4 separate regions of the Homo sapiens genome follow, and regions 1, 3 and 4 are each linked to region 2. Evidence: promoter capture Hi-C in human tissues and cell types (Jung and others, 2019). All regions are on one chromosome and are shown on one strand. The core of a region is centred on a gene start or on the middle of the fragment in contact, and the rest is flanking DNA. Distances in the headings are between cores, read along the strand shown.

Region 1 (5,766 bases), core at 514-3,013, 380 kb before region 2:
CCGCCGCCGCCTCTTTCATCTCTTCTGGGGCAGGGGCCAGGGCCAGGTGAGGGGAGTGGGGTTCCGGGAAGGCTGAGCTGGGTGAGGAGGTGGTTTTCACCTGGGTAGGAAAGTGCCCAGAGACCGTATCGAGCCACCGACTCCCCAGTGGTTCCGACGACGCGTGAGTTTGAGTGTGTGTGTCTACACCGGCGCTCCTTCGCCCGAAGGTGCTCGGAGCTTAGGGGTCCGCTTCACCGTGACCGGACCTGGCCGCGCGGCCCCGCCGCTGAGCAGGCTTCTTCCGGCGTGGGGTGCCGGAGGCGGAGGAGCTCGGCCCTGGCTCCACGCCGCTGTCCTTCCCCACAGACAGCTTCACGTGGAAAACCCGGGTCCATTTTTAGGGCTAAACTGGGGAACGGCGACTTCTTTTTGGTTGAGGGAAAGGTTTTCCTGCGATTCACTTAGAACACTGGAAGATTAGCTTTGCCAGTCTTAGTCGTTTCTTCTCAGAGATTGTTAGAAGTCTTGTTTCTTAACCTTAATTCACTGCTGTTCTGACACCTATTTTTTCAGAAAAAAACTGCCTTCTTGCCCTTGGAGGCAGTACAGTTCACACGGAGTCATTTTCCCCCTTTGATTTATCCTCCCAACATTCTGTAAAGATCCTATTTCTTGCCTTCATAACCGACTTTCTGAGTGGAGGCTCTAACCTAGCGTTGAAAATCGGACGGATCTGGCCAGTTGTTCACATGCTGTTGACTGCTGGCTTTGGTTAGCTCTTAGCCACTCCCTGCACAAGTGTTTGTTTATTCAAAATAGCTATCTCACTGTCTCTGTTTAGAAGTTTGAACTAAGCTGAGAGCCCTCCCTCCTTACTTTTATTTTTTTGTTGTTGTTGCGTAAAACAAAACAAAAACTTCTTTGGCGAAATTATAAGATTTCCTCTGGAGGTTTAGTATAAAGCAGAATGTTGCTCTCTGCCCTGACTAGTGTGACCTTGGATGAGTTGCCACACCCTTCAGATACCTTCTTTCTTTTTTTTTTTTTTTGAGACAGAGTTTCCCTCTTGTTGCCTAGGCTGGAGTGCAATGGCGCGATCTCAGCTTACCGCAACCTCCGCCTCCTGGGTTCAAGCCATTCTCCTGCCTCAGCCTCCCGAGTAGCTGGGATTACAGGCATGCGCCACCACGCGGGGCTAATTTTGTATTTTTAGTAGAGACGGGGTTTCATCATGTTGGTCAGGATGGTCTCGAACTCCCAATCTCTGGTCATCCCCCCGCCTCAGCCTCCCAAAGTGTTGGGATTACAGGCGTGAGCCACCGCGCACGGTGATACCTTTTTTTCAACCACCCCCGCGCCACCGCATGAAGTATTATTTTCATTTTTAACACCCTCTCTCCCCCAAGTGAAGTATTCTTCATTTGGTAATAGGCAGTTAAGGGTATTGAAAATCTTTTTACTAGGAATGGTCAGGTACTGTTCTGTATTTTTTTTCCAATGGCTCATTTTTTATGTGGAAGAGTATATTCAGTAGTTGGATTCACTTTTTATTTTATTTTTAGTTGTCTCCTACAGCAAGGACCAGTAGTTGAATTCAATTGAAAGATGCCTAAGGCTATATCTAACCAGTCTTGTAAAAAAACAGACTTGTGTTTACTAGCACATAATCTAATCAACATGTATTAAATATCACACACATTAAGCTTTTAGGACAAGTGGTTTGCAACAGTAATAATCATTAACAACATTTCATTTGGCTGTTTGCGATGGCTCACTGTAATCCCAGCACTTTGGGAGGCTCAGGCAGGAGCATTGCTTGAGCCCGGGAGTTCGAGACCAGCCTGGGCAACATAAGGAGACCTTGTCTTCACAAAAAATTAAAAAAAAAAAAAATTAGCCAGGCATAGGTCCCAGCTACTTGGAAGACTGAGGCGAGAGGGAGGACTGCTTGAGCCCGGGAGATCAAGGCTGCTGTGAGCTGTGATTGCTCCACTGTACTTCAGTCTGGATGACAGAGACCCTGACTCAAAAAATATATATATGTTTGTTTATTAATTTTTTATATATATATATATATTTTTTTTTTGAGGCGGAGTGTCGCTCTGTCGCCCAGGCTGGAGTGCAATGACACGATCTCGGCTCACTGCAAGCTCTGCCTCCTGAGTTCACACCATTCTCCTGCCTCAGCCTCCCGAGTAGCTGGGACTACAGGTGCCCGCCACCGCGACAGGCTAATTTTTTGTATTTTTAGTAGAGACGGGGTTTCACCGTGTTAGCCAGGATGGTCTCGATCTCCTGACCTCGCGATCTGCCCGCCTCGGCCTCCCAAAGTGCTGGGATTACAGGCATGAGCCACTGCGCCCGGCCTAAATAGATATGTATTTTATTGTGAAATACTTCAGGCATACAAAACACAAGTGTTAAACATTCACTTAGTTCCAGTCTGCATTTATCATTTTTTAGACAGGATTTTGATTTGTATCTTATTCCAAATAAATGTTCACCAAGAGTTCTTGTTTAATATATATACAAAGTGGGGGTGGGTGGTATTTTCAGATTGGTTTATTTTTTTTTCTTGTTCTTCCTCAGACGGTAATGTGCCAATAAGCCCATGAGGCAACATGATTTGAGGGAGGCACATGTCATGCATTAGCATGAAACCCAGTCATCTTGGTTCTTTATGAACCGCAAAAGGATTGGAGTAGCTGATTTTTTTTAACAACTTTATTGACATATAATTAACGTACCATACAACTCACCATTGTACAATTCAGTACTTTTTAGTATATTCACAGAGTTGTGCACCCACCACCACAATCATTTTCATCACCTCAAAAAGAGACTCCCATACCCATTAGCAGTCATTCTTTATTACTGGTCCTCCTACCCCCACCCTTGGGCAACCACTGATCTACTTTCTGTCTATGGATTTGCCTATTCTGGAGATTTCACAAAAATGGGATCACATAATATGTGTTTTTTTTTTTTTTTTTTTGAGAATGAGTCTCACTCTGTCGCCCAGGCTGGAGTGCAGTGGTGCCATCTCGACTCACTGCAAGCTCCGCCTCCCGGGTTGACGCCATTCTCTTGCCTCAGCCTCCTGAGTAGCTGGGACTACAGGCGCCCGCCACCACGCCCGGCTGATTTTTTGTATTTTTAGTAAAGACGGGGTTTCACTGTGTTAGCCAGGATGGTCTCCATCTCCTGACCTTATTATCTGCCCATGTCGGCCTCCCAAAGTGCTGGGATTACAGGTGTGTGCCACCGCGCCTGACCAATATGTGGTCTTTTGTGTCTGGCTTCTCTCTTTTTTTTTTTTTTTTTTTTTGAGACGGAGTCTCACTGTCGCCAGGCTGGAGTGCAGTGGCATGATCCCACTGCAACCTCGGACTCCCAGGTTGAACCTAACTCAGTCCCAAAGTAGACTGAGACTGTAACTCAGTCTCAGTAACTGTAACTCAGAGTAGCTGGGATTACAGGTGCGTGCCACCACACCCAGCTAATTTTTGTATTTTTAGTAGAGACGGGGTTTTGCCATGTTGGCTAGGCTGGTCTCCAGCTCCTGATCTCAGGTGATCCACCTACCTTGGCCTCCCAAAGTGCTGGGATTACTGGCGTGAGCCACCACGCCCGGCCTGTCTGGCTTCTTTCACTTAGCATAATGTTTTCAGAGTTTATCCAAGATGTAGTGTGTATCAGTACTTTATTCCTTTTTATTGCTGCATTCTATTCCATTGTGTGGACATACCACATTTTAAAAATAAGTTGATGGGCATTTTTTTTTTTTTGAGATGGCATTTCACTCTTGTTGCCCAGGCTGGAGTGCAATAGTGCCATCTCAGCTCACCTCAACCTCTGCCTCCTGGGTTTAAGCGATTCTCCTGCCTCAGCCTTCCAAGTAGCTGGGATTATGGGCACACACCACCATACCCAGCTAATTTTTTTTGTATTTTTTGTAGAGATGGGGTTTTTCCATGTTGCTGAGGCTGGTCTCAAATTCTTTGACTCAAGTGATCCTCTTGCCTCTGCCTCCCAAAGTGCTGGGATTATAGGCATGAACCACCACACCTGGTCTGTAATGCTGCTTTGAGCATTCATGTGCAAATTTTTGTGCAGATGCGTTTTCATTTTTCTCTGGTATATATCTGGAAGTGGAACAGAGTAACTGAATTTTATGTCCTCCATTTACACAAGCCATATACAGGAAGCCTAATTATTGTGAAAGTCAGATTATCTAGGACGGGATGAAAGTAAGGCAGTTCTCTGAATTATCTGCAAATGCCAACTGCTGAGTGAAAATATTTTTGGGTAGCTCTAACACAAGATTGAACAATTAGGCCTGTTTTAATTGGAAAGGGGGTAGTGTCTACACTAGAGTTTTAGTGTCTGCTGAGTTTTAAAAATGATACTTGTCCAGTTGCATTTTTCAGATGGGTGGGGTGAATTTTTTACCATTTGATAATTTTTTTTTTTGAGATGCAGTTTCACTCTTGTGAGGTCTTCACTCCCGACCTCAGGTGATCCGCCCGCCTTAGCCTCCCAAAGTGCTGGGATTACAGGTGTGAGCCACCGCGCCCGGCCATTTCATAATTTTTATTAGAATTATTTTACTCTCTTTCAGAGAAAGTCTTACAATTCAATAGGAGCTGGCAAAGCATGGATTAGAAAATAGCTTTGGACTCCATGTTAACTTGTGGAACTTAAAAAAAATTCCCTGTTCAAGCCACCAGTGAGTCATGAGACTAAAGAGCTGATAGCCAAGAAACTTAATGTTTTGTTGTTGTTGTTTGCTTTTTTATTTTTATTTTATTTATTTATTTTTTGAGATGGAGTCTCACTCTGTCGCCCAGACTGGAGTGCAGTGGTGCGATCTCGGCTCACTGCACGCCCCGCCTCCTGGGTTCATGCCAGGAGGTGTGTAGCTGGGACTACAGGCACTCGCCACCATGCCCGGCTAATTTTTTGTATTTTTAGTAGAGATGGGGTTTCACCGTGTTAGCCAGGATGGTCTCGATCTCCTGATCTTGTGATCCGCCCTCCTTGGCTTCCCAAAGTGCTGGGATTACAGGCGTGAGCCACGGCGCCCGGCCAACTTTTTTATTTTGAGACAGAATCTCACTCTGTTGTCCAGGCTGGAGTGCAGTGGTGCAATCTCGGCTCACTGCAAACTCCGCTTCCTGGGCTCAAGCCTGATTCTCCTGGCTCAGCCTCCTGAGTAGCTGGGAATACAGATGCACACCGCCACACCCAGCTAATTTTTGTATTTTTGGTAGAGATGGGATTTCACCATGTTGGCCAGGCTGGTCTCGAACTCCCGACCTTAGGTGATCTGCCCATCTGGTCTCCCAAAGTGCTAGGATTACAGGCATGAGCAACTTTGCCTGGTCTTTTAATGTTTAAAATTACAGCTTTTTGATTTGTGATGGATTTATCTGTGAATTTTTATTTTTCTCTTTATAAACTGGGATTATAGTTGTGTTCAACTCTGTATTACTGGAGCATTTAATAATTCTTTTTTTTTTTTTTTGAGACAGATTCTTGCTCTGTCACAAGGCTGAAGTGCAGTGGCACTATCTCGGCTCACTGCAATCTTTGCCTCCTGGGTTCACGCCATTCTCCTCTCTCAGCCCCCTGAAGTAACTGGGACTACAAGTGCGTGCCACCACGCCCAGCTAATTTTTGTATTTTTAGTAGAGACAGGGTTTCACCACGTTGGCCAGGATGGTCTCAATCTCTTGACCTCGTGATCCGCCTGCCTTGGCCTTCCAAAGTGCTGGGATTATA
Region 2 (6,028 bases), core at 2,007-4,506:
AGATGGATCAGCCTTGAGGTGACCTGTCAGGAAAGGACATTTGGGCTGGAAGTAGCAGAAGCCTCTGTGAGCCATCCTTCATGCAGAACTAGTCAGGAGCAGCTCCCGCTCAGCCAAGAGAGTGAAGCATGCCCATCGCCCAGCTCAGCCAGGTAAGTACTAGGGAAACCTGTGGGAGGCCCAGGTGAAATGAAGGCATTGTCTCAAGAGGTCAGGCTGACTCCAGGAAGGAACAAAATGATGCATGCATGGCTATGCACAGACTAGAAAAGCAAAGACTAAAGGGAAGGATGGAAGTTGTTCTAACTGTTTTGGGTTGCTTGGAGGGAGTGGGGCATGGGAGAGGGAGGGAGTGTGTAGTCAGTGCGTGGGAATGCAGAAAGGAGCATGCAGAGACAAGCAATCTGGTAGGCCATGTGGGAGACTGTGGCCATTCTATGGTAGGGAGACCCTTCCTGGCCACTCCCTCAGTGGCCCTGGCACATTAAGCTTTGTTGTCCACATTGGGTGGGTTGTGTATGCTTTAAACAACATCTTAATCCCCTTGCCTATTTATGAGGTGTATGACTGAGCCGTGCCCAAGAGTTTCAGAAGATATGGTACCATCATTTATACCTATCTCGCAGGAGATCTTAACCCCTTCTCTACTTAACCCAAATGAAAGCGAGGTCATTAGGAAGCTGTGCCTGGTGAAGTTCTGGCACCAGGTGGGTAGATCACATTTTCTAGTTTATGTAAAATTTTAACATTTCAGACCCCCAGTTTTAAGACCTTATCTAATTTCCTTGAGCCCCTTAGTCATTGTGAACTCGCTGTGGAGTGTCTGCCTCCACCTGCCTTGGTGTTTATGAACATTCATGGTAACTTTAGAAGGCAAGGGTTAGAGGAAACTTTTTGCCGCCCACCCCCAGTCTGCAACAGTACCTGTGGGGAAGATTTTACCCTGGGACTCCAATTTTCAGGGAGAGGAAGTTTCTAGGATTTCCCATAGGCTTACGAGGGACTCGCCATGTGGAAGGATTTTAGGCCTGAGAAGGATAATAACACTTTATAATTTCTAGGTGATCTTATTTGTTGCCTCTTCCTTCTCCAGAGTGACTACTGCATTCCGACCTGCACCCCCACCCTTTTTTTTTTCTTTTGAGACAGAGTCTTACTCTGTCACCCAGGCTGGAGTGCAGTGGTGTGATCTTGGCTCACTGCAACCTCCACCTCCCTGGCTCAAGCTATTCTCATGCCTCAGCCTCCCGAGTAGCTGGGACTACAGGCATGCACCACCACACCTGGTTAATTTTTGTATTTTTAGTAGAGACTGAGTTTCACTATGTTGGCCAGGCTGGTCTCCAACTCCTGGCCCCAAGTGATCTGCCTACCTCGGGCTCCCAAAGTGCTGGGATTACAGGCCTGAGCCTCTGCGCCCAGCCCCCTCTTCTGCTTTCTAAGTGTCCATTCTCCTTGTAGTGAGTGGGTGGTGGGGGGATATACACATGTGACTCTGGTTAGTACATAGGCAGCCATGAAGTCCACAAATGTACAGGGAGCCACAGCTTTCATGCTACAGACTTGCAAAGGTATGCATCTGCTTTCCCCTTGCCCTGGAATATAGATCAGAACACTTCATTTAGTGAAGGGACCTGTTCCGAGAGTGATGATCCCTCCCTCGTTTGAGACACTGCCTTCATCCTGAGCTTCTTGGAGCAGCCCAAGGCCCTGCCAGCTCTCTTTGCCTGTAGCTTGTAGGCATTTATGACAGTTGCATACCCTGCCCTCCAACGGCAGCCTGAGAGACTGAACTATTACCAAGTTCACCTGGAAAAATGTCACCCTGATTGATTAGAATGGTGGGTGGCCATCTTAGCTCATTAGAATCACCTGGGAAGTTAAAAAAAAAAAATCCAGTATGCACTCCAAATTTTCCCACCACCACTCCTCCCCACAAAAAGAAAATTTAAAAAATCCCAGTGTTTGGGCCATATCCCAGACCAATTAAGTCAGAATCTCCAGGGATTGGACCCAGGTAGCAGGATTTCTAAAAATCTCCCCAGCAGCCAGGCCTGAGAGCTAATGAATAGCACCACAGGGCCCAGCCTTTCAGCCTACAGCTTGTCTCGGTTTCACCCTTTTTTCATTTCTTTACAATGAAAATTCTAAATAGTTGATCACAGTGCCAGACCAATAAGAAAGCATTTTAGGGAGGAGAGAGGAGGGAAGGGGTTGGCAGGCACGGAGAGGACTTGACACACAGAAAGCATTTTGCTATGGAGTCATAACCATTTGATTCTAAGACACATGCAGCCTCCAGAAGTCATGCGGCCCCGCCCTCTGCTTCCAGGAGGGAATGAACTTGGCCGTCCTTTTGTTGCACACGCCCGGGAGCTGCGCCGGCGCAGCGCGCCCTGCAGCCTGGGAGCGCAAGCGTGTGCGCCACTGGTCCTGGGCCACCACCGCGCGCCGCGGGCGGGTGCAGGGCCCCTCTGCCGCAGGGAAACCGGCGTTCCCCGCGCAAAGCAGCCGCTGCTCCTAATGAGCTCATGGGTTCACCGCGCTGAGCTAGCCAGAGCGGACCCGGCTTCGCCAAGGGCCTGCTGGCTGTCCTGACACCTGGCCTACCTCGGGGGTGCCTGGGTACGCTCTTCCTTTGCCTGCGGGATAGAAGCACAATGAAAATGGGGTGGACGTGGCTGGGAGACAGCCCTGCTCTCTGGCAGGCTCTGGGGAGTGTGTGGTACGTGGCATCCGCACTGGTGGGTGTCGTGCGATGATCGAGACACGGATACTGGGTGTCTTTCCCACTAGGGGAGAGAGGGCTGCGTTTAGAGGGAAACGAAATAGATCCGAGAAACACAAAGATGTCACAAAGGAAACGCTTCCCCACCATAAGCAATCTAAATAAATGATTCTTAGAAGACATCCAGCAAAACACATAACCTTGTCATTTAGATTCGCTCGCCCACAGGGGGACTGGAGGGTACTCACCGACTAGGGCTTCACAGCCGCATCACCGCCGGCGGTGGGCGCCTGCCTCGGCAGGGGCAGGGTGGGTGCCCGCAGGGCACAGGTGCCGCCGTGGCTGCTCGCACAACCCCTGCAGCTGCGATCCCGCCCAGTTAGCCTCGGGGGCTGCACAGCCCAGCCCCCTCGCCCAGGGCCCAGGGGTTCTCAGGCCGCGCGGCGAGGACGGAGGGCTGCCCCGGGTGCCTGCCTACGCGGGCGCTCCCCGCCGGGACTCCGCCGGGGCTGCAGGAGCGCGCGCTGCTGGCTGGGCGGGCTGCGGCTCCGCGCGAGCGCCGTGGCAACGCGAGCGGGCGCCCCCAGGAGGCCGCGGAGCTGCGGCGTGGGACGCTTGGGTGAGGCTCAAGCCAAAACCAAACCCAAACCATTTCTCCTCCTCCCCATCTTTTCATTTTCTCCCCTTCTTTTCATTTTCTCCCCTTCTCCAACCCCTTCCTCGACACACGTTACTAGCACCTCGAAGGTTGGAAATTCCAGCACTCTCCTGAGGCCTCTTCCCCAGCGAATCCTGCTAACCACGCAGTCGGTGTTCGCTGTGTGTTCGAGCACACACCTCCTTGCAGTGGCTTCAGCACCCAGGTCTCCGGGAGCCAGTGAAGGAACCAAGTGTTGGATACTGAGCAAGTCGCGTAACATCTGAGTAGTCGTGAAATTGAAATTTCAACGGTATAAAGGACACGACGTTGTCTTACAGATTGAAAAATGCTATAAAATGAAGTTCTTACTGTTACTATGATGATGACCCTGGAGATCAGCGCAGAGCCCTGGGGGAGGGCTACAGTTGCAAGCGCTCCAAGGATCAGATCGCGCACTCCTCCCCACCGGAGAAAACCTCTTGATGCCGGAGCCCGGGCAGCCTCTTCCACACTTCCAGCCAGCCCCTTCCACACTTCCAGCCAGCCCCGGCATTGCCACAGCCCGTGGAGCTGGACAGAAATCCACCAGGCACTAAAATAAGTTAGATGGAAGACGGGATGGATTTGACCAAATTCCTATCAGCATCTGCTCAGTATAATTGCAACATTATAATCAGAGCAGAAAGAAGCCCAGAGATTATTTTGTCTTCAAGGATCATTGGCCTCAGTATTATCTCCATCTGAAGCTGTGTTGTCCAAAGCAGATTGACTCCAGCCGGCCAGCTCAGAAGAGGGCCGACTCTGGGCTGGCGACTCCTTGAGAAGGGCTCTCTCTGGTCCCAGGTGGTATTTACTTAACCGTATCATCATCTGCTTCATTCGTGTTCCCTTCATGTCCATCATGTGAGGACGGGAACTGACAGGGCCAGGGTGTCGGCTCAGAGGCAATCTCTGCTCATCCTCTAGAGCCCCACTTCATCACCCAGCCACTCTGTCCACTGTCTCCCCACCTACAAACCTGCAGGTGTTCTGCCCCAGTACTAGAATAAGGGAACACATTTTTACTGAGCTCTGACAATGTGACTGGGCTTTTCAGGAGCTATTTCATTTAATTTTTAATGTAAAACATTGTTTTACATATTAAGAACCTAAAAGCACAAACAGTAAGTAACTTGCTTGTGGAAGCTTATGCAGCGAGATAAGTGGTAAAGCTGCAATTCCCAGTTTTGTTTGATGCCACAGCTGAAGGTGCAAGGCCATCTGGGCACGGCCTGAGTGGATATTAGGGAAAAATGCCCTAAAAGGTCCAGAATCTCTAATAATTTCTCCTACTTCTCATTTTATTTTATTTTTGACGCTGGAGTTTTTTTTTTTTTTTTGAGTCAGGATCTTGCTCTATTGCCCAGGCTGGAGGGCAGTGGTGCAATTTCAGCTCACTGCAACCTCTGCCTCCCAAGTTCAAGCGATTCTCCTGCCTCAGCCTCCTGCATAGCTGGGACTACAGGCATGCACCACCATACCCAGCTAATTTTTGTGGAGATGGGGTTTTGCCACATGGCCCAGGCTGGTCTCAAACTCCTGAGCTCAAGCGATCTGCCCTCATCAGCCTCCCAAAGTGCTGGGATAACAGGCATGAGCCACTGCACTAGGCGAAAACGTTTATTTTAGAAAAACTGAAAAATATAGAAACATAAAGGAAGAAAAGCATTCATAATCTCATCACCTAGAGAAAGCCATTAGTAATATTCATATTTCTTTCCAGTCTTTTTTCTAGCTTTCTAGCTTTAAACTAAGTTGAGATAAAACCACACACACACACACACAGACACACAAGTGCATCCTGCTTTTTGTTAAAAATAACTTTGTGGGAAATTCTTCCTCCTTTGAGGATTTTTAAAAAACATTAATTTAAATGTCATACAATATTTTTATCATATGAATATCTCATAATTTCCCTTTTATTGAATATTTCCAACTTTTATTGATTGTAAATAATGGCAATAAAATTTTTTCTTCATAAATCTTGCTCCTATGTGTGAATAATTTCCTTCCAGGTGAGTCCCAGAAGTGGAATATTGAGTCCAAGGGTATTAACATTTTAAAGACTTTCCAATCCTCTCCAATGGGGATATCCAACTCACCCAGCCCCGTTCCCCACAGGACCTGCACGGTCCCACTCCACTGCCCTCCACACATCTGTTGTGCCCTCACCTGGTATATAGCATTTAAATTATTTAGCTCACAAACTCTTTGGGAAACTAGGGTTAGTTCTTTGTAGCTTTTTGGTTGATTATTTTGATTTACTCAGAAAAACGCAGTATCTCCTTTACTATTTTAAAATCCTCAATAAGTAAGAATAGGGAGAGAAAATAAGAGAAAGGGGTGAGCTTTCCAAGGCCCTGGGTTAAGCCAGGGATGCCGGAGCTTGGAGCTCACTTGATACTGACCCTGCTGATGGCCTCAGCCTCAGTCCTGCTATAGAAAAGCTGCCCTGTCCCTCTGATCCTCACGTTTTAATCTCAGCATTTACTGCTGATGGGATGATTGGGTAAATTGAAAAACTTGTCAGAGAGGGTTAGGCTTTGATGGGTGGGGTAGGGGAGACCTCTCAGGAAAAGCAACTAGAGTAATAGAACTGTCAAAGGTTGGCAATAAGGCTG
Region 3 (5,955 bases), core at 370-2,869, 300 kb before region 2:
AAGAAAAAACCTGGTAGGATTTTATATTGGAGATTGTATTGAACCAAAGGGTTAATCTGGGAATAGCTGACATCTTTACAATAGTTTTCCAATCTATGAGCATGATATATATATCCCTTTAGGATATCTTTAATTTCTTTCAATAATACTTTGTAGTTTTTTATGTAGAGTTATTGTACAATATGGGCTTCCTTCCACATTGGACTTAAAAATGTACTTCTTTTTTAATAGTAGTTAAATAGTTTGGATGAACCATATATATTTTTAAACTTTCCTGAGGGTATTGAAGACTGTTTGAAATCCTTCTGTATTAAAAATGATGCTAATGAAAATCCTTGCAAAATGTGTAAGCTTGAGACCTGATTACAGCTTCCGGTTAGGATCTCCATGTCTTTGCTTACTTAGCTGAACCAAACCCTCCCTGTGTCTCTCTCTATCTGTCCCTCTCCCTCTCTCCCTCTCTCTTTCTCCCTCTCCTGAATGCATCCTCTTCTGGACCATTCCAGTGGTCCTTACCCTGAGGCTGGGGCAAGCTGTCATCCTCAAAAGCTGGGAGGCCTAGAAGCCCTCTCTTCCAAGCCAATGGGCCCTCCAATTTTCCTAATTGTATACTGCAGTACTGTAATTTTTAAAGACAGATTTTACTTTACAGTTTTGTGTTATCTCTGCTTAGAAGAGATGGAGGAGGAAGGAAAAGTTTGTAAATTACCTTCTTTAGCCAAGGGAGGGTATTGTTTCCATTTGTTTTCACTTCCTTATTGTCCCATCCAGTTGGTATTTTAGAATAGCTCTTTGTCCTACCACCATACCACCAAAAACAACAATTAAAATGACAACACAAACAATAGCAAGTTATGAAATAGCATAACTTACTGATTACTTCCTATGTACAAAGTACTAATCTAAGCACTATAAATACTATACCTCGGGCCGGGCGCGGTGTCTCACGCCTGTAATCCCAGCACTTTGGGAGGCCGAGGTAGGTGGATCACGAGGTCAAGAGATTGAGACCATCCTGGCCAACATGGTGAAACCCCGTCTCTACTAAAAATACAAGTATTAGCTGGGCATGGTGGCGTGCACCTGTAGTTCCAGCTACTCGGGAGGCTGAGGCAGGAGAATCACTTGAACCTGGGAGACGGAGGTTGCAGTGAGCCAAGATTGCACCACTGCACTCCAGCCTGATGACAGAGTGAGACTCCGTCTCAAAAAAAAAACAAAAAAAAACAAAAAACAAACTATACCTCATTTTAAAAATGAACTCAAGTCCAGGTGTGGTGGCTCACACCTATAATCTCAGCACTTTGGGACACTGAGGTGGGAGAATTGCTTGAAGCCAGGAGTTTGAGACCAGCCTGGGCAACATAGAGAGACCCGTCTCTACAAAAAATAAAAAAACTTAGCTGAGTGCAGTGGCCCATGCTGTTATTCCCAGCTACTCAGGAGGCTGAGGCTAGAGGATCCCTTGGGACCAGAAGGTTGAGGCTGCAGTGAGCTGTGATCCTGCCACTGCACTTCAGCCTGTGTGACAGAGCGAGACCCCAACTCTAAAAATACAACAAAAACAATCTTATCTAGTCAGTCATCCCCATTTTATTTGTGAAGAAATTGAAGTCTAAAAGTTTAAGCAAGGTATCCAGATTCGCACAGCTGGTACACAGTTGGAGCTGGGATACAAGCCAGTTGTTTTTGACTGTGAATTTTGTGGTCATACTGTATTATTTTAACCCCCTGATTATTCCATACTCATAGAACATCCTTGATGCTTACCAGGGCCTCTGAAGTGGCTGGAGCAAGGGTCGAGGTAGAAAGTGGTGCAGTATGATGCCGACATCATGGTCGTGTGATTTATTTGTATTTCTTATTTCCTTTTTTATGGGGCTGATAGACTTTTGATTTATGTTAGATCCTTGATGTATGTAGAAAGTTTTTGGTTTTGGTTGAAGAATGAAATTATCCTACTTCAGTTGAATAGCAACCATAATCATAAAATGAAGTAGAAATTAATTTGCTTTACATATTCCATTCAGATTCCCTGTAGCTTTTACGAGTGTTGTCTAGCCTTTGTATGACAATTTCTGTACATCTCTGTGACATTCCATTCCATTGGTTCTCTTCCTGTCCTTTTATTGCGCCTTACCCTCTGGGTTGGCCTAGCCCCTTGTGCATACACCTGTCATAAAGCTTTCTGTATCATATTGAAGTTAGTTATTCATATGTCAGGCTTCACAGCTGCCTAGTAAATTCTGTAAGAATAGACCCATTCTTTCTCGTAGCCCTTGTGCCTGACACAACCCTGATAAGCAGTAGGCACACGGTGGCCTGTTATTAATAGACATGGACACAAGGCCTGTGCTGTAGGGCTTTATTGCTTTCACTCAGACTTCCTGACAAAAGAAGCAAGAGTCTCCGTGTCTGCAGCATTTCTCCATTCTGTCTCTGCCATCAGAGGAATTTTAAAGCAAAGCTCTGATTATAATTTTGTACCTCAGAGATGTCAGTGACAAACCATCGCCTGTTGGATAAAGTCCATATTTCTTAGCTGTCATTCAGGTTCCTCCATGGTCCTGTCCTCACTGACCTTCTATTCTTCATGGGCACTCTGCATTAATTAAACAGGGCTCTGTCCTTATCTTCTTTTTTTTCTGTCTCTGTGCTTTTGCCTGCATTGTGTCTTCTGTGTACCCTTCGCCTGCCAAAATCTTACCCATTCTTCAGATGTCTGATAGAAATGCTAGTCCCTCCGTGAGGCTTTCTGTGATCTCCCTGCTTTCTCTGACCTCTACCCAAAGAGGTCTTTTTCCCATCTGAACTTTTTTTCTTCTTCTTCTAAGGAAAGCAACACTGCCATATGAACTCTTAATGGCACTTGGACTATGACATAGCATTATTTGTATACCCTACTAAGTGATAAATTCCTTGAGCACAAGGTCTTGCCTTTGTTTTCTCTGCTGTTTTGCATTAATTACTGCATTGAACATACAGGGTGAGTATCCCTTATCCAAAGTGCTTGGGATCAGAAGTGTTTTGGATTTTAATTTTTTTTTTTTTGATTTTGGAATGTTTGTGTGTATGTGATGAGATGTCTTGGGGATGGGAAAGCCCAAACATGACATTTACTTCTTTTTGTATGCACCTTATACATATAGCGTGAAGGTAATTTTATATAATATTAATATATTAATTTACAAATATACAATATTTATAACATAAATATATATAATATTTTGTGTGCATGAAGCAGATTTTTGACTGTGTTTTGCCTGCAACCCACCACATGAGGTCAAGTGTGGAATTTTCCACTTGTGATGTCATTTCAGCACTCAAAAAGTTTCGGATTTTGGGCCGGGCACAGTGGCTCACGCCTGTAATCCCAGCACTTTTGGGAGGCCAAGGCGGGTGGATCACTGAAGGTCAGGAGTTCCAGACCAGCCTGGCCAACATGGTGAAACCCCATCTCTACTAACAATACAAAAGTTAACTGGGCGTGGTGGCAGGTGCCTATAATTGCAGCTACTGGGAAGGCCGAAGCAGGAGAATCGCTTGAACCTGGGACGCGGAGGTTGCAGTGAGCTGAGATTGTGCCACTGCACTCTAGCCTGGGAGACAGAGCAAGACTCCATCTTAAAAAAAAAAAAAAAAAAACCTCAGATTTTGGATCATTTCAGATTTCAGGTTTTCAGATTAGGATGCTCTCAGCCTGTGTGTGAATTACACTGAATGTATATTAACTTAGGATTTTTTAGTTTCAAGGAGACTGCTCAGAAGACTGTCAAAAATTCTTTCTCTGCATTGGCCTACAAATACATGCATTCCATTCGGAAACTATGTAGGTTTAAACAGTGTTTCATTCCTAGAACTTCAGTTTAGGAAAGAATTTGCTTTCCAGATTGATGTTTATGTTTTAAATAGTTACCATTCTTTATTATTGACGCTTGTCCTTCGTTTCTAGGGCACTGTGTTTAGTCTTGAGTCAGAGGAGGAGGAATACCCTGGAATCACTGCAGAAGATAGCAATGACATTTACATCCTGCCCAGCGACAACTCTGGACAAGTCAGTCCCCCAGAGTCTCCAACTGTGACCACTTCCTGGCAGTCTGAGAGCTTACCTGTGTCACTGTCAGCTAGCCAGAGTTGGCACACAGAAAGCCTGCCAGTGTCACTAGGCCCTGAGTCCTGGCAGCAGATTGCAATGGATCCTGAAGAAGTGAAAAGCTTAGACAGCAACGGAGCTGGAGAGAAGAGTGAGAACAACTCCTCTAATTCTGACATTGTGCACGTGGAGAAAGAAGAGGTGCCCGAGGGCATGGAAGAGGCTGCTGTGGCTTCTGTGGTCTTGCCAGCGCGGGAGCTGCAAGAGGCACTTCCTGAAGCCCCAGCTCCCTTGCTTCCACATATCACTGCCACCTCCCTGCTGGGGACAAGGGAACCTGACACAGAAGTGATCACAGTTGAGAAATCCAGCCCTGCTACATCTCTGTTTGTAGAACTTGATGAAGAAGAGGTGAAAGCAGCAACAACTGAACCTACTGAAGTGGAGGAGGTGGTCCCCGCACTGGAACCCACAGAAACGCTGCTGAGTGAGAAGGAGATAAACGCAAGGGAAGAGAGCCTTGTGGAAGAGCTGTCCCCTGCCAGCGAGAAGAAGCCCGTGCCGCCGTCTGAGGGCAAGTCTAGACTGTCCCCCGCCGGTGAGATGAAGCCCATGCCGCTGTCTGAGGGCAAGTCTATACTGCTGTTTGGAGGGGCTGCTGCTGTTGCCATCCTGGCAGTGGCCATCGGGGTAGCCCTGGCTCTGAGAAAGAAATAGGAGGCTTTTCAGAAGAGAAAGACAGAAGGATGTAAGGTTGGAGTTGTATTGGCTGGAATTTGAACCTCCAGCAGCTGTCTGGACATTTGTGGAACACTCTGGGATAATTGGGGACTTCTGCTCAACATGGCAGTGGCATGTTAGGCATGTTAGGGCTTGAGGTGGGGCATTCACATTCATCTGACTGTAAATCCCAAGGGCCTCCGCTCATGCTAAATTGAGAATCTTAGGGGTAAAGCACCCCCTCCAGGACCGGGTTTCTCAGCCTTGGCACTAGTGCTGTTCTGACCATTCTCTGTGTTGGGGCTGTCCTGTGTGTGGTGGGCTCCACCCACTAGATGCCAGTGGCACCCCCTCCCAGAGATGACAAACGAAAATGTCTCTAGACATTGCCAAATGTCCCGTGTGAACATCCCCTATTGAGACCCACTGCTTTAGCGAGAGAGGGTTTACTTAGGAAGAATTGGGATAGAAATTCCCAGCTGAGAGAACTTAGCTGTGGGCTCCTCAGCTACTGACTTCTTAGCTCTTAATCCCCTTAGAATTTCATCTTTCTCGATGAGCAGGCTCTGCACCCACTCTTTTTTTGCCCCCCGCCCTCATCCTGGAGTGTGAGGGTGCTCGCCCGTACTCTCAGCTGCCTCTCAGGGACTGCACTGTTCCTCTTCACCCCCAGGTTCCTGCTAAGATCCCACGGGCGAGGGCTTGCTCTGGACTCAGTCTGTCAAGTCCCCGAAGCTTCCTGCAGCTCCACCTTGTAAAAATGCTGCCTTTGGGAATCTTCGAAATATGTACACAGAGAAAATCACATGAAGGAGACCTGGGGTCCCCACTTGTGAGTGCAACTGCAAGTAACTCTGGCTAGAGAGACACATGTGTCTTGTGTCAAGGCAGGAGGATAACCTGGATGACCTTCTGAGGTCTCTTCAGCCCTTTTCGCTAGTGGTCACCCACCACCATGGTTACTTGCCAGCAACATCTCTATTGCTGGATGGTCCCTGTCTATAACCTTGGGCTAGTATATTTTTTCCAATATGGGACCTTAGTCTTACTACTGATGAGTTCTATGGGTCTCTTGCTAGGGGGTAAGGATTTTTATTCTTGGGCTTATAGAGCCAGTTAGATCATAATTCTTATGAAATAGA
Region 4 (5,983 bases), core at 1,086-3,585, 350 kb before region 2:
CTGTCAAGATTTCTCCTAGTTTGTGTTAAAACAGCCTTATTTTATATTACATGGCATTATCTAAACTGACAGAGGTTGTCCTGCTATTCCTACCTTTCACAGTGTGGAAAGCAGGTTCTGTATAAGCATCTTTGATTAAAAATCTGTGATGAGCTAATTTCTGTTCACAGAGATAAGGGGCCAGGAAAGATAATTATCTAATAATACAATTTTAGAGCATGAAAAGAATTGGTGAGTGGGAGCACCTGTCGATTGGGCATTTATCTCATTACTCTTCACAACTACCCTTTGTGGTGGGTATTATTTTCCCATTTTATATAAGAGGAGAGACGGTGGCTCACGCCTGTAATCCCAGCACTTCGGGAGGCTGAGGCAGGCGGATCACTTCAGGTCAGGAGTTCGAGACCAGCCTGGCCAACATGGCAGAACCCTATCTCTACTAAAAACAAAAAAAAATAGGCAGGTGTGGTGGCACACGCCTGTACTCCCAGCTACTTGGGAGGCTGAGGTGGGAGAATTGCTTGAACCCAGGAGGTGGAGGTTGCAGTGAGCCGAGACTGCACCACTGCACTCCAGCCTGGGTGACAGAGCGAGACTCTGTCTCAATTAAAAAAATAATCATAAAGAGGAGAGGGTCAAGAAGATTATTTTCCTTGCCCAAGTGAAGAGTTAGAAGGCCTGACTCCAAAGCTTATCAACCACTTTACGGCTGTTTTCCAGGAAGCTGGAAGGGAAAGAGAGAATTTTATTGCAAGAAATAGCATGGGCCGTGAATTAATTTCTGAGCTTGTGTTTGATTTCACTTAATAATGTCATGATGTATTCTGGAGATCACTGTATCTTGTGCAGTTATATTAATCAGTGCTGTTGCAGAGCCATCTAACACTACAAATTACTTCTAAAGGGAAAACCTGTTATAATTATAAACAGTAATGGAGATTTAGTAGAAGCTTATCTGTAAAGGTAGACTTTTATGCTTTATGAGAATTTATAAAGATTAGGATAAATTGGCATAGGATCTTTCTAGGATAAATTGGCCTCAAATTTTTGCATAATAGATTGTTTTATGTAACATTTTCAAGTTTTTATGAATGTAGTTTATCAAAGTTATTTACTTAGGCAGAAGTAAGTGAAATGTCATTAAGCAAAGTATATGCTATTGGTGACATTGAGGAGATCCTTTGTGTTACATTTCAACTTTTAAGGATTCTGGCACTTAGGGAGGCAGAGGCAGGAGGATGGCTTGAGCCCAGGAGTTTGAGACCTGCCTAGGCAATATAGTGAGACCCTATTCTCAAAAAATAAAAAAATAAAAAAATAAAAGGATTTGAATTTTATTTTGGTTAGTCTCATCTCATAAGGAAAGTGTTTTATGTCGCTTAAAGCCATGTTATTTTTGTCAGCTTTAAAAGTAGAAAATGAATCAGAATCTGTGATACGTAAAAATGTTTAACCTTTTGTTTTTTAAAGGTATTTTAAATACCTGTGGATGATAGAATAATCAAGTTTCTTGACCTTAATAGAATTAATTAATTCAAAGCCCATCTGAGAATTTGGGATTCTTTAATTTGGTTGCAAAAAATGAAAACATAGGCAGAGCCTGGTGGCTCATGCCTGTAATCCCAGCGTGAGGGAGGCCAAGGTGGGCGGCCTGCTTGAGCCCAGGAATTTGAGACCAGCCTGGCCAACAAGGCAAAACTTTGTCTCTACCAAAAAAAAGAAAAACCCCACACAGCTGGGCGCGGTGGCTCACACCTGTAATCCCAGCACTTTGGGAGTCTGAGGCAGGTGGATCATGAGGTCAGGAGATCGAGACCATCCTGGCCAACATGGTGAAACCCTGTCTCTACCAAAAATACAAAAATTAGCTGGGTGTGGTGGTGTGCACCTGTAGTTCTAGCTACTCAGGAGGCTGAGGCAGGAGAATCACTTGAACCCAGGAGGCAGAGGTTGCAGTGAGGCGAGATCGCGCCATTGCATGATCTGGCGACAGAGCGAGACTCTGTCTCAAAAAAAAAACAAAAAAACCCCACAAAAATTAGCTGGGCATGGTGGTGTGTACCTGTAGTGCCAGCTACTTGAGAGGCTGAGGTGGGAAGATCGCTTGAGCCTAAGAGGTTGAGGCTCTTGTGAGCCATGATAGTGCCACTGCACTCCAGCCTGGGCAACAGGGTGAGACCCTGTCTAGAAACATAAAATATATAGAAGTGCTGAAGTGCAGTGGTGCAGTCATGGCTCACAGCAGCCTCGACCTCCCAGGCTCAAGTGATCTTCACACATCAGGCTCCCGAGTATCTTGGACGATGGGAACATGCCACTGTGCTCAGCTAGTTTTTTTTATTTTTCGTAGAAACAAGGTCTAGCTATGTTGCGCAGGCTGTTCTTGAACTCCTAAACTTAAACAATCCTTCTGCCTCGGCCTCCCAAAGTGCTGAGATTACAGGCATGAGCACCACACCCAACTGAAGTGAAGATTAAATAAGGGGACATGAAAGTCCCTGTCAGAAGACAGTATCACCGATATAGACAGCCTTTCTGCTCTCTGTTAACTATTTAATCATGTCAGAAATGTTTCTGAGATCTTTCATTCCTAGCCACCCAACCAGAAGATGACGAGAGCACAGCCTGGATTAACGATTTTGTAGTCAGACTCACCAGAGTTCCAATTATAACTTCTTTATGGTAGTGGTAGAACCTATCCAAGCTTCAGTTTCCTCATCTTCAAATGGAACTATTATTTCATCCCTCATAAGGTTGACTTGGAAATTAAATGAAATAACACATAGGAAATGTTTACTACCGTGCCTGTTAAGTAACAGGTACTTTGTAAATGCTTGCTGTTGTCCTGCCCTTCCTGAACTTCCCCAGTCTATATAAATAGTTTCATGTGCTGGACAAATCTTACTCATTTTTGTGCTGCGTAGATGCTTCAGGACATACCTGATAAATAGCAGGTAGTCAATGTTTCTTCAGTGGATAAATGAATAGTAGGTAGACCTGCAACTTAGTGGCCCAGTTCATGCTGCTTTTTGTTAGCTTGTTTGGTTTTTCTGCTGAAATTCTTGCATGGTGGAGTATAGTTGATTGCAGGGCCCTTCCCCCACACCCAGGTAGGGGCTTCATTGTCCCCACAAGTTACTTATCTCAAGTCTTTAGGGAAATGAAAAACCACTCTCCTCTAACAGAAGGTTAGTTGCTAAGTATACAATTCAGCATCCTCTGGGTGTTCAGGTAAGTCTGAATTTAAGTTCCAGAAATGAGTGAGATTCCTAGGATGACTCTGAATTATCTTGACTTCCCTGAATGCTTCTGGCTAAAAACCAAGCTGGGATTATTGATGTGATTGTGAATCTGGCCCATGTCCTGGGAATGTGGATTCTGCTGCATATGTCAATTGGTTTGGCTCTTTTTTTTTTTTTTTTTTTTTTTTGAGACAGTTTCACCCTTGTGGCCCAGGCTGGAGTGCAATGGTGCGATCTCTGCTCACCACAGCCTCCAACTCCTGGGTTCAAGTGATTCTCCCACCTCAGCCTACCGAGTAGCTGTGATTACAGGCGCCTGCCACCATGCCTAGCAAATTTTTGTATTTTTAGTAGAGACGGGATTTCACCATGTTGGCCAGGCTGGTCTTGAACTCCTGACCTCAGGTGATCCGCCCGCCTTGGCCTCCTGAAGTGCTGGGATTACAGGCGTGAGCCACTGTGCCTGGCTGGTTTGGCTCTTTTTATCCTAAATTTTTTGTTTAAATGTTCTGTAGTACTGAAATCACCTGAAAGTAGAAGAAAAAAAAATTATTCAAGAAAGAATATTTTTGCAATGTAGGGAGAGCTTGAGCTTTTTATATAAGCTTTTAAAGCTTTAAAAGGAACTGTGCTGTTTTACCCCCAAATTTGCCCACTTTGAATTCAGGAGAAACGTTTTGGTCTCCTTTATGTTCTAGTCTCTGGATACAAATGTTTTCTTTGTTCGTTTTTTCCCCTTATTACCAACCACAGGTTCTTAGGCTCCTGTGTAATAGAAATTGACACAAGGCCAAGCAAGTTTCCCAGACAAGGCTATATTAAGACTTATGGGCCAGGCACGGTGGCTCACGCCTGTAATCCCAGCACTTTGGGAGGCTGGGGCGGGCGGATTACCTGAGGTCAGGAGTTCGAGATCAGCCTGGCCAACATGATGAAGCACCATCTCTACTAAAAATACAAAAAATTAGCCGGGCGTGTTGGCAGGCACTTGTAATTCCAGCTACTCGGGAGGGTGAGGCAGGAGAATTGCTTGAACCCCGGGGGGCGGAGGTTGCAGTCAGCCGAGATTGTGCTATTGCACTCCAGCCTGGGCAGCAAGGGCGTAACTCTCTCTCAAAAAAAAAAAAAAGCTGGGCACGGTGGCTCACGCCTGTAATCCCAACACTTTGGGAGGCCGAGGTGGGCGCATCACGAGGTCAGGAGATCAAGACCATCCTGGCTAACACGGTGAAACCCCATCTCTACTAAAAATACAAAAAATTAGCGGGGAATGGTGTCGGGCGCCTTAGTCCCAGCTACTCGGGAGGTTGAGGCAGGAGAATGGCATGAACCTGGGAGGTGGAGCTTGCAGTGAGCCGAGATCAAGCCACTGCACTGCACTCCAGCCTGGGAGAGAGCGAGACTCTGTCTCAAAAAAAAAAAAAAAAAAAAAAAAAAAAAAGAAAAAAAGACTCATACCTAGAAAGGTTGGACATAAGGGAGACAGCACAGGAGGAAGGGTTCTCCAGCTGGCTCTCCGAGGGGAGTGCATTGCGGTGTCTTAAGGAGGGTGGCATGCATGATTCACGAGGTAAGTGAGCATCACTACGTGTGTGGGGTGGAGTGCAGACACGGTAAGGAATCGTGCTAACACATGATCAGAAAGTGGCAGATAAGCGTCTTTCTGGGTGGTGATTTTAGTATTATAATGAGGCTGGTGATTAGGATTGGTCATTGTCCTTGAGCTCGTGTGAGTGGTAGAGCTCACTCCCTTGAGTAAGATTTATGGCAGGCTGCTGCCTATAGTTTCTTCATACCATACCTGCGAGGTCTGGTCAGCAGGTATGGTGCCAGTTGGGATGGCGCTGTAGGGTGTGGCGGTCACTGAGAACGTATGGAAAAACACATTAGTGGGGTGGGGCCAAGTCCCATTTCCTACTCTGTCGCACCTCCATGCCCCGCGATTACTCGTCTTGATCTGTCTCCTGGAGCCTTTTAGTGGTTGGTGATCATTGGCCCTGCTCATTAAGTCAGGTTACCCAATAGTACAAAACTGTAGTACATTAGCCAAATGAAAGAGGACTATATTATGCAGTGGGTGTGAGTATGTGAATTCAGGGACGGGGAAAGAAGGAGAATTAGATGGGCTGGGCGCAGTGGCTCACACCTGTAATCCCAGCACTTTGGGAGGCCGAGGCAGGTGGATCACGGGGCCAGGAGATCGAGACCATCCTGGCTAACACGCTGAAACCCTGTCTCTACTAAAAATACAAAAAATTAGGCGGGTGTGGTGGCGGGCGCCTGTAGTCCCAGCTACTTGGGAGCAGGAGAATGGCGTGAACCTGGGAGGCGGAGCTTACAGTGAGCAGAGCTTGCGCCACTGTACTCCAGCCTGGGGGACAGAGCGAGACTCCGTCTGAAAAAAAAAAAAAGGAAAATTAGATGGTAATTAGTAAAGAGTTTAAACCAAGGCTTATAGAGGTCCTGAGAGGGTCCATGAATGCCCTAAAATTGCTTGCCAAACATTGTGGGAGGAGGGGCCATTATTTTATTGACATTCTCTTAAGAGCCTGAAATCTCAAAAAGCCCAAGAACAAGAACTGCTGTGCTGTGATCACTGTCATAGAGGCAGGCTTGGACTTTGGGGTGTTTGATTTAATATAGTCCATGCTTGCAAGAATGGCGAGAGGCGACATTGTGCAGGGGTTAGGGCCCAGACCCTGAAAGTTGACTGCCTGGGTTTGTATCTGAGCTCTGCTGTT

The links. Contacts are between HindIII fragments. The study calls those that stand out against the background at their distance.
Region 1: a contact is called between a fragment that was not itself captured here and the fragment with the promoter of MICAL3 in region 2, in 1 of the 25 tissues and cell types used here (mesenchymal stem cells).
Region 3: a fragment that was not itself captured here is called in contact with the fragment with the promoter of MICAL3 in region 2 in 3 of the 25 tissues and cell types used here (aorta, dorsolateral prefrontal cortex and mesendoderm cells).
Region 4: a fragment that was not itself captured here is called in contact with the fragment with the promoter of MICAL3 in region 2 in 1 of the 25 tissues and cell types used here (dorsolateral prefrontal cortex).

Annotation. Positions count from the first base shown.
Region 1 is chr22:17,638,841-17,644,606 of GRCh38, forward strand. It overlaps BCL2L13 (BCL2 like 13), which reads left to right. Exons shown (of 7, transcript NM_015367.4): 1 at 1-46. It also overlaps the pseudogene LOC124905160. Among named protein-coding and RNA genes, the nearest start is that of BCL2L13, 3.0 kb to the left of the region's middle. RefSeq lists enhancers at 1-158, 1-799. The HindIII fragment of the contact is 6,703 bases long and covers 1-5,115 here.
Region 2 is chr22:18,021,305-18,027,332 of GRCh38, forward strand. MICAL3 (microtubule associated monooxygenase, calponin and LIM domain containing 3) reads right to left here and starts at 3,257. Exons shown (of 32, transcript NM_015241.3): 1 at 2,977-3,257. RefSeq lists a silencer at 2,985-3,394. The HindIII fragment of the contact is 7,498 bases long and covers 1-6,028 here.
Region 3 is chr22:17,722,725-17,728,679 of GRCh38, forward strand. BCL2L13 (BCL2 like 13) reads left to right here. Exons shown (of 7, transcript NM_015367.4): 7 at 3,953-5,955. The coding sequence ends at 4,810. Among named protein-coding and RNA genes, the nearest start is that of MIR3198-1, 39 kb to the right of the region's middle. The HindIII fragment of the contact is 3,159 bases long and covers 41-3,199 here.
Region 4 is chr22:17,675,859-17,681,841 of GRCh38, forward strand. All of the region lies in intron 2 of BCL2L13 (BCL2 like 13), which reads left to right. Among named protein-coding and RNA genes, the nearest start is that of BCL2L13, 40 kb to the left of the region's middle. The HindIII fragment of the contact is 3,031 bases long and covers 821-3,851 here.